2 separate regions of the Homo sapiens genome follow, and region 2 is linked to region 1. Evidence: promoter capture Hi-C in 16 types of primary human blood cells and fetal thymus (Javierre and others, 2016). All regions are on one chromosome and are shown on one strand. The core of a region is centred on a gene start or on the middle of the fragment in contact, and the rest is flanking DNA. Distances in the headings are between cores, read along the strand shown. Region 1 holds the start of SIVA1 (SIVA1 apoptosis inducing factor). Region 2 holds the start of BTBD6 (BTB domain containing 6).

Region 1 (4,373 bases), core at 1,790-4,289:
ATCTGTGTTTAGTCACACGTGACTCCAACTGAGTAACTTTCAAGTCATTTCCCTAAGGCAGAAAAAATTCTCCATTATGCCAGCAAAGTGGCAAGGAAGAGCCAAGAATGCTTGATCCCATCCCCACCACAGGGAACCCTGCACGGCAGGAGGAGAAAGGACATCTAAGCTGGAGACTGGTAAGGTTTCAGCCACCCATGGCTAGGAAAGCATACACTGCCTCTGAGGGGGCGTGGGCAGCTGCAACACGGGAGTCACGTGGGAGGGGTTTGCGGGACTCCAGGCATCACCTCTTCACACCGGAGGCAACACCGATGGAGTCGTGAGAACATAGTCCAGGTGTGTCCAGAATTGGTGGGTTCTTGATCTCACTGACTTTAAGAATGAAGCACTAGGTCCTCACAGTTGACTGTTACAGTTCTTAAAATTGTTATGTCTGCAGTTTGTTCCTTCTGATGTTTGGACGTGTTTGGAGTTTGTTCCTTCTGGCAGACTCACGGTCTTGCTGGCTTCAGGAGTGGAGCTGCAGACCTTCACAAGGAGTGTTACAGCTCTTAAGGCAGTGTGTCTGGAGCTGTTCATTCCTCCCGGTGGGTTTGTGGCTTTGCTGGCCTCAGAAGTGAAGCTACACACCTTCCCAGTGAGTGTTACAGCTCATAAAAAGTGTGGACCCAAAGAGTGAAAGAGCAAAGCCCCAAACATGTGGCAGAACACCAACACGTTCCCACTGCCTGCTCGGGCGGCCTGCTTTTATTCCCTTATCTGGCCCCACCCATATCCTGCTGATTGGTCCATTTTACAGAGGGCTGGTCTGTTTTACAGAAAGCTGATTGGTCCGTCTTGACAGGGCGCTGATTGGTGTGTTTACAATCCCTGAGCTAGACACAGAAGTTCTCCAAGTCCCCACAGAGCACTGATTGGTGCATTTACAAACCTTGAGCTAGATACAGGGTGCTGATTGGTGTCTTTACAAACCTTGAGCTAGACACAGAGTGCTGATTGGTGTATTTACAGTCCCTTAGCTAGACATAAAGGTTCTCCAAGTCCCCACCAGATTAGCTAGATACAGAGTGCTGATTGGTACATTTACAAACCTTGAGCTAAACACAGAGTGCTGACTGGTGCGTCCACAATCCCACAGCTAGACATAAAGGTTCTCCAAATCCCCACCAGATTAGCTGGATACAGAGTGCCCATGGGTGCATCTACAAACCTTGAGCTAGACACAGGGTACCGATTGGTGAGTTTACAAACCTTGAGCTAAACACAGTGCTGATTGGTGTATTTACAATCCCTTAGCTTGACATAAAGGTTCTCCAAGTCGCCGCTAGACTCAGGAGCCCAGCTGGCTTCACCTAGTGGATCCCACACCGGGGCTGCAGGTGGAGCTGCCCGCCAGTCCCGCGCCGTGCGCCCGCACTCCTCAGCCCTTGGGCGGTCGATGGGACCGGGTGCCGCGGAGCAGGGGGCCGCGCAAGAGCCCACGGCAGGGGGGAGACTCAGGCATGGCGGGCTGCAGGTCCTGAGCCCTGCCTCGCGGGGAGGCAGCTGAGGCCCGGTGAGAATTCGAGCGCAGCGCCGGCGGGCCGGCACTGGTGGGGGACCCGGCGCATCCTCCGCAGCTGCTGGCCCGGGTGCTAAGCTCCTCACTGCCTGGGGCCGGTGGCTCCGATTGCGGGGCCCGCCGAGCCCACGCCCACCCGGAACTCACGCTGACCCGCAAGCGCCACGTGCAGCCCGGGTTCCCGCCCGCACCTCTCCCTCCACACCTCCCTGCAAGCTGAGGGAGCCGGCTCCGGCCGCGGCCAGCCCAGAGAGGGGCTCCCACAGTGCAGCGGCGGGCTGAAGGGCCCCTCGAGCGCGGCCAGAGTGGGCGCCGAGAGCGAGCGAGGGCTGCCAGCACGCTGTCATCTCTCACAGGGCGAAGCCCACGCCACAGGACGGGTCGGTTCTGTACCCGCCGGGGCAGGGGAGAGCCGCCTCTGGTGAGCAGAACCCCGGAGAAGGGACGACGCGGGTGCACCTCGCGGCATGGGGACACCAAGTCAGACGAACCCGCTGTGCAAGAACATTTTCCACACAGCGGCGCATACCCCCGCCCGGGGGCGCTCGGCAGCCGCACGCGGCCCTCAGAGCGCAGCCCCCACACGCCTTTACTTCTGGAAGGCGGAGACCGCCACAGTGAGGAGCTAAGCCAGCTGAGGCAACACAGAAAAACCCCCGTTCCTACCCAAAACCAAAAAGCGGGGCGCGGAGGCGCGCGCCTGCGGTCCCAGCTACCGGGGAGGCCGAGAAGGGAGGATCGCCTGAGCCCGGGAGGCGCAAGCTACAGTGAGCCGAGACTGCCACTGCACTCAGTCTGGGTGACAGAGCGAGACCCTGTCTCTAAAGGGGAAAAAAGAGCTAGGAAGAAGCGGGCTGCCTCTTAACTTCGGAGAAGTAAATGAGGAACTATAACCAGTGTCTACCGTTTAGGAACCAAACAAAAGCTGACAGGAATCCCGCCACCGACCCAGCCGCCCCAGACTTTGCCCTGGCCTATCCCGCGCCGCTCCTCAAACTAGACCCGCCCCGACGTCGCCCTGGCCTATCCCACGCCGATCCTCAAACGAGGCCCGCCCCCGATGCACAAGCTCCGCCCTCGTTGCACCGTCCTGACCCTCGGCCTCGCCCCCGCCCCCTGGCTCTTCCCGCGCAGCCGAATGCCGCGACCTGGCTCCCACCCTTCGTCGCTTCGCGCCGCATAGGAACCCCGCCCCTAGTCTCTCCTCCCGCCTATCCTGAGCGGCGCGCGCACAAATCTCTCCCACGGACCCGCCCACCCTGATCCTCAACCTGGCCCCTGGCCTTTCCCGCGGCGTCGAGTCCAGTACACCGACGCACGAGTCCCACCCCCGATCTCTCCCTCGGCCTATCCCGCGCCGCTCCGCGCAGGAGTCCCGCCTCCCACTTCGCCCGCAGCCTATGACGCGCCGCGTCGCTCCCTCTCCTCAAACCCGCTCTCGCCCGCGGATGGGCGCGCAGCTGTGACGTCACGGCGTCGTTGGTAAGGGGCTGGCGGCCGGGGAGCTGCGTAGCTCCCGGCCCCGCGGCCATGCCCAAGCGGAGCTGCCCCTTCGCGGACGTGGCCCCGCTACAGCTCAAGGTCCGCGTGAGCCAGAGGGAGTTGAGCCGCGGCGTGTGCGCCGAGCGCTACTCGCAGGAGGTCTTCGGTGAGTGTCGGGCGGGCTGCCGAGGGTCCGCTGCGTCGGGGCCTGGAACGGGCCGGGCCTCAGCGTCCCCTCTGAGGCCTGAGCGGGGGGCTGGAGGGCCCTGCTTTCTGGCCCCGCGTTCCCGGAAGCTGGGAGGCCGCGGGGACACAAGCTGGCCACGCCCAGGGCTGGGGTCAGTGAGGGGGATGTGAGGACCCCAGCGTTCGCCCACCCTGTCCAACAGCCTGAAAGAAAAGGGTCCCTGCCCCTAGCCCCCGCGCCCTCTTCCACGATCCCGGTTAGTCGCCGCCCTGCAGTGAGCGGCACCCGCCTGGTGCTTTCTCAGGACTGTCCCGTGCAGGATGTCCTGGGAGAGGTTGGGGAGCGGGGCGTCCTGCATGGAGTCAACCCGAAGAGTGCCCCTCCTGTCCCAAGAGGTATTCATGGAGCGCGCGGCCCTGCCAGGCACGGCGGCTTTCTCGGGAGACCAAAGGCAGGCAAGACAGATGTGCCCCGTCTCCCGGGAGCTCCCCAGCCTAGTTGGGGAGACCAGCAGGAGGAGTCGCCACAGGTGGTCGGGGCAGGCACAGGTTTGTGCAGGCGCACCTGCAGGGATGGCACGGAAGGCTTCTTGGAAGAACAGTCTGAGCGGAATCCTGTGGGGGCGAGTAGGAGTTAGCCAGGCAGAGGAAGGGAAGGAAGAGGGCGAGGCAGAAGCCAGGCAGCAGGAGAGCGAAATAGGACTCCGTGTGGCTGCAGTGTCCAGTTCTGGGTGGGATGTGAGGGCAGTGAGCTCCCAGGCCTTCTCTGGCTTTCTCCTGTGGATTTCAGGCGTGTTGATCTTATTGATCATCACTCTGACTGGGGTGATTAATACCCTGGGGCAGGTAAAAAGTGGAGCTTACCTTGCCTAGTGATTGGGACACAAAGTCTGCACCTGTAGAGCAGTTAGAGGATGACCCGGGGTGTGTGATTTACCTGGTGCCGCTTGTGCCTTGGGAATGAGGGAAAGACTCTGCCTCCCGAGGTTCCTCTGTGCGGTGTCTCCAGTGTGCTAGGGCTGTGAAAGCGAGTGCTATTCTGGGCCATGGGGAGGTAAGGGGAATGATGCCGTGGGAACTGTGGCAGGACCGCAATCGTGTGCCCTCTCAGGACAGTTGAAAAATTCAAACACTGTGCAGG
Region 2 (4,757 bases), core at 918-3,417, 500 kb after region 1:
ATGACCATTATCACAAACAAAAAAGAATAGGCTGGGCGCGGTGGCTCACACCTGTAATCCCAGCACTTTGGGAGGCCTAGGCAGGTAGATCACTTGAGGCCAGGAGTTTAAGACCAGCCTGGTCAACGGAGTCTCGCTCTGTCATCCAGGCTGGAGTGCAGTAGCATGATCTCAGCTCACTGCAACCTCCGCCTCCCTGGTTCGAGCCATTCTCCTTCCTTGGCCTCCCGAATAGCTGGGATTACAGGTGCCCGTTAATTTTTGTATTTTTAGTAGAGATGGGGTTTCACCATGTTGGCCAGGCTGGTCTCAAACTCCTGACCTCAAGTGATCCGCCCACCTTGGCCTCCCAAAGTGCTGGGATTACAGGCGTGAGCCACCGCGCCCAACCTACACTGTAACATATTTAAAAATCAAAGTGCAAAGGGTGGTTTCTTTCTAAGGATGAAAATTATTATTCACATGCTCCACACCACCATGCAGATCAAGACGCTGACTACCTCTGGCGGCTCAGCAATTCTATCCTGGCACCCCCGGAGACAGCTGTCGCCCAGGTCTTGTGTGCTGCTGTAAGTTATTCCTTCTCACTGCATTCCCCAAATGGACCCACCACAACCTGCTGATCCTTTCTGTTGCTGATGGACATGTAGGCTGTCTCCACTCTGGCCATTTGTATTTCTCCTGGAAACTGCTTATGCCCGTTACCTTTTTCTATGGAAACAGACGGCTGGGACAGAAACCACGGCCACAGCAGCCAGCGTGTCTTTGCCAGTGGGGTCCCACACTATGAAATCGCAGCTGTGGCCTCGGTGGGTGTGTCCTTGGCGGGTGCATCCACACACTTTCTCTCGGAACTTTCCGGACTCTCATGCATATGCTACAGCTTTCCAAACGGCTTGGCCGTGCGGAGTTACGCACCCACCTGCAGCAGGTGATCTCCAGCTGCTCTGCATTCCACCAACACTACGTGACAAGTCTCAAGTTCAGCCGCCTGGGGGCTCGGGCACCCCATTCCTGGGAGAAATGATGATTTGTGCACTCTGGGCCATTGCATGGTGTCTGTTCACGTCCTTTGCCCGTTTTTTAAAAAACTGGGTTGTCAGCCTTTTCCTTCCTGACTTGTAGTTGCTCCTCCATCCTGGAGAGTCCTTTGTTGAAAATACCGCAAATATCTTCTGAAGAGGACTCTCCCAGGGAACATTCACTACAACTGTAACGACCACAGAGACACAGAGCTCCTGTTCACTGTTTAGCCCAGGACTGCGGTGACAGGTGCACCCATGACCCGAGATGCTGGCTGCGTCCTGTGGGGTTTCCTGCATATGGAAGTTTTAAAAGTCTAAAGCCTGGCGGTCCAGGAGGTTGCGTGTGTGTCCTCGGGGAGGAACCCTCCTGACAGCCAGGCCTCTGGAGCTTCGTCTGCACGCGAGCTTGGCATGCACCAGCTGTGCGGCCCAGGCCAGGTGACACGGCCTCTGAAGTCTGGTCTCCTCATCAGCAAAGCCAGTGCCCCATGCCACGCACCTCCCAGGATTAGCCCCAGGCCGGGAGGCTAGAGGCCCCACAAGGAGCGAGCCTGCGACTGCGATCCACAGGCAGAGCCACAGAGGCAGGGCGCGCCCTGGGGCCCAAGCTCCAGGGCTGCAGGCCCAGGGCCAGATCCTGACTTGCCCACCCGCCGGCTGTGTGACCTTCAGCGCGCGACTAACCTCTCTGTGCCTATTTCCTCGAGGAAAATGCCGGGAAATAGCAGCGCCTGCCCCTGTAAAGCCCTCAGAGCAGAGTGGACCGCGCTCTCTGCAAGCGCTGGCTGCTGGCGTCCGTAGCAAGCTAAATCGCGAAGCATCTGAACGAACGAGGAAGCCCAACGACCATCCCACAGGCCGCGGCCAGAGGCAGACTCCGGAATGCAAATGGCCAAACAAGCAGGTCCACCTGCGTTCCTAACCAAAAGATCGCTAACTGAAGAACGGGCGCAAGCACCTGCGCATGGCACTGCGGGTCTGGGGGCGGCCGCCTGCCAGCGCCGGGAGCCGCCTTCCACGGCTACCTCTGCACAGCGCGCGGCTCGCGCCGGTTGCTGGGCAGAAGCTCGAGCAGCTTCGAGGATGTCGGGCCTGGGGGCGGGGCCGCGAGGCAGCGACGTCGCGCGGGGCGCGGCCCTGACGCAGCGTGACGCACCGGCGCCGCGGCGGGTACGGGCTCGGGCGGGCGGGCGGGCGGGACGGCGCCCCCCGCGGCCGGGCCTGGCCGGGCTGCGCTAGGCTGGGCTCGGGCAGGGTCGCAGGGGCGGGGGTGGCAGGGGAGCGGGTGGCAGCCCCGCGGGTCACAGCGCCGCCGCCGCCCATGCTGCTGCCCCTAGCCTGCCTGCACGGCCGCGTCGCTCAGTGCCTGACCTCCTTGCTTTTGCTTGCAGAGCCGCTCCCGAGGCCCCGGCGCGGCGCGAGGGCGCGGGGCGCGGCGTCCACAGGCGCCGAGGCTGCCCCCGCCGCCCCGCCCGCGAAGATGGCGGCGGAACTCTACGCTCCCGCCAGCGCCGCGGCCGCGGACCTAGCCAACAGCAACGCCGGCGCCGCCGTGGGCAGGAAGGCCGGGCCGCGCAGCCCGCCCAGCGCCCCCGCGCCAGCGCCGCCGCCGCCCGCGCCCGCGCCGCCCACACTCGGCAACAACCACCAGGAGAGCCCCGGCTGGCGGTGCTGCCGCCCCACGCTGCGCGAGAGGTGAGCCCGTGCCCCGCGGCCCCCGCGCCCGCGCGCGCCCACGCCCCCAGCCCGTGCCTCTACCTTTGCAGGAACGCGCTCATGTTCAACAACGAGCTCATGGCCGACGTGCACTTCGTCGTGGGGCCCCCGGGGGCGACCAGGACGGTGCCCGCCCACAAGGTGGGTAGCGGCGGCCCCTCTCGGAACGCGTGCCCCGTCCGCCCCGTCCGCCGTGTGGCTGACACGCAGCCTGCGGGAGAGCCAGGCTCACGGCGGCGCTTTCTCCTCCCAGTACGTCTTGGCTGTCGGCAGCTCCGTCTTCTATGCCATGTTCTACGGAGACCTGGCGGAAGTCAAATCTGAAATTCACATTCCAGACGTGGAGCCCGCAGCCTTTCTGATCCTCTTAAAGTAAGTCCACTCTACTGGGGAGGGACGGGTGGGTCCGTTTTAGGCGGCCTCCGGAGGCTTCTGAAGGGAAGCACACAGGAGCTGATGGACTCCTCTCCCAGGCCCAGCCCCGCGATGGGTGCTTGGGAGCCAGCCCCTGACGCGGGCCCTGCCTCGCCTAGGTACATGTACAGTGATGAGATCGATCTGGAAGCCGACACGGTGCTGGCCACTCTGTACGCTGCTAAGAAGTACATCGTCCCAGCATTGGCAAAAGCCTGTGTCAACTTTCTGGAGACAAGTTTGGAAGCCAAGAACGCCTGCGTCCTGCTGTCCCAGAGCCGGCTGTTTGAGGAGCCCGAGCTGACGCAGCGCTGCTGGGAGGTCATTGACGCACAGGCCGAGATGGCCCTACGGTCCGAAGGCTTCTGTGAGATAGACCGGCAGACGCTGGAGATCATTGTCACTCGGGAGGCCCTCAACACCAAAGAGGCGGTGGTCTTCGAGGCCGTCCTGAACTGGGCCGAGGCGGAGTGCAAGAGGCAGGGGCTGCCAATCACCCCACGAAACAAGAGGCATGTTCTGGGGCGAGCCCTCTATCTGGTCCGAATTCCAACCATGACCCTAGAGGAGTTTGCCAACGGCGCTGCCCAGTCAGACATCCTGACTCTGGAGGAGACCCACAGCATCTTCCTGTGGTACACGGCCACCAACAAGCCCCGCCTGGACTTTCCCCTGACCAAGAGGAAGGGCCTCGCCCCGCAGAGGTGCCACCGATTCCAGTCTTCTGCCTACCGCAGCAACCAGTGGCGGTACCGCGGGCGCTGCGACAGCATCCAGTTTGCAGTGGACAGAAGGGTATTTATTGCAGGGCTGGGCCTGTATGGCTCCAGCTCTGGGAAGGCTGAGTACAGCGTGAAGATTGAGCTCAAGCGGCTCGGGGTGGTTCTGGCTCAGAACTTGACCAAGTTCATGTCAGACGGATCCAGTAACACCTTCCCGGTCTGGTTTGAACACCCGGTCCAGGTTGAACAAGACACCTTCTACACGGCCAGTGCCGTCCTGGACGGCAGCGAACTCAGCTACTTTGGGCAGGAGGGGATGACGGAAGTGCAGTGTGGAAAGGTGGCCTTCCAGTTCCAGTGCTCCTCGGACAGCACCAACGGGACTGGGGTCCAGGGTGGGCAGATCCCTGAGCTCATTTTCTATGCCTGAGGTGCCCGGGGAGGCTGCAGCAGGTCAGCGAGTGAGTGGAGGGGAAGTCAAGATGCTAACTGCTTCTTGACACCATGAAAGGCTGCTCTTAACTTTGTCTCTCTTTGACATGTAGTCAGCTGAAGCTTGACTGTGTAGAGACATTTTCCACACAGCCAGAACCCAGGGATTGGAGTCTTAGGCATCTCTGGTACAGTGGGGTGCACGTCTCAGGTGGAGGAAGATTTACGGCTCAAGACAGGCCCCAGATCCCCTCCCAGTGGCACCCATGCCACCTGCTTTGAGGGGTTGGATCTTCCTGCTACCCTCTTGGATTCTAAGTGGTTCCAAGCTTAACTTGAGACCTTCCCTTCAAATCTAAAATTGGCAAAAAGTCACTTAAAATAGTGGACTTCTGTAATAAAGGTTGCCTAAAATAACACCCACGTGTCAGTAAATGACTACAGCAGT

Evidence for each region. Contacts are between HindIII fragments. The CHiCAGO score rates a contact against its expected background, and 5 or more counts as called.
Region 2: the fragment with the promoter of BTBD6 here is called in contact with the fragment with the promoter of SIVA1 in region 1 in 2 of 17 cell types (erythroblasts and neutrophils); the score reaches 5.8 in erythroblasts.

What each region holds. Positions count from the first base shown.
Region 1 is chr14:104,750,108-104,754,480 of GRCh38, forward strand. It overlaps SIVA1 (SIVA1 apoptosis inducing factor), which reads left to right and starts at 3,040. Exons shown (of 4, transcript NM_006427.4): 1 at 3,040-3,212. The coding sequence starts at 3,095. The region is part of intron 2 of LOC107987209 (a long non-coding RNA gene); the gene reads right to left. RefSeq lists enhancers at 2,066-2,155, 2,859-3,360, 3,006-3,055, 3,066-3,135 and a silencer at 2,536-2,905. The HindIII fragment of the contact is 19,431 bases long and covers 1-4,373 here.
Region 2 is chr14:105,246,366-105,251,122 of GRCh38, forward strand. BTBD6 (BTB domain containing 6) reads left to right here and starts at 2,168. Exons shown (of 4, transcript NM_001387567.1): 1 at 2,168-2,720; 2 at 2,792-2,882; 3 at 2,995-3,113; 4 at 3,275-4,728. The coding sequence starts at 2,347. The coding sequence ends at 4,307. All of the region lies in intron 5 of BRF1 (BRF1 general transcription factor IIIB subunit), which reads right to left. RefSeq lists enhancers at 1,794-2,584, 3,376-4,165 and silencers at 1,960-2,519, 2,720-2,769. The HindIII fragment of the contact is 26,340 bases long and covers 1-4,430 here.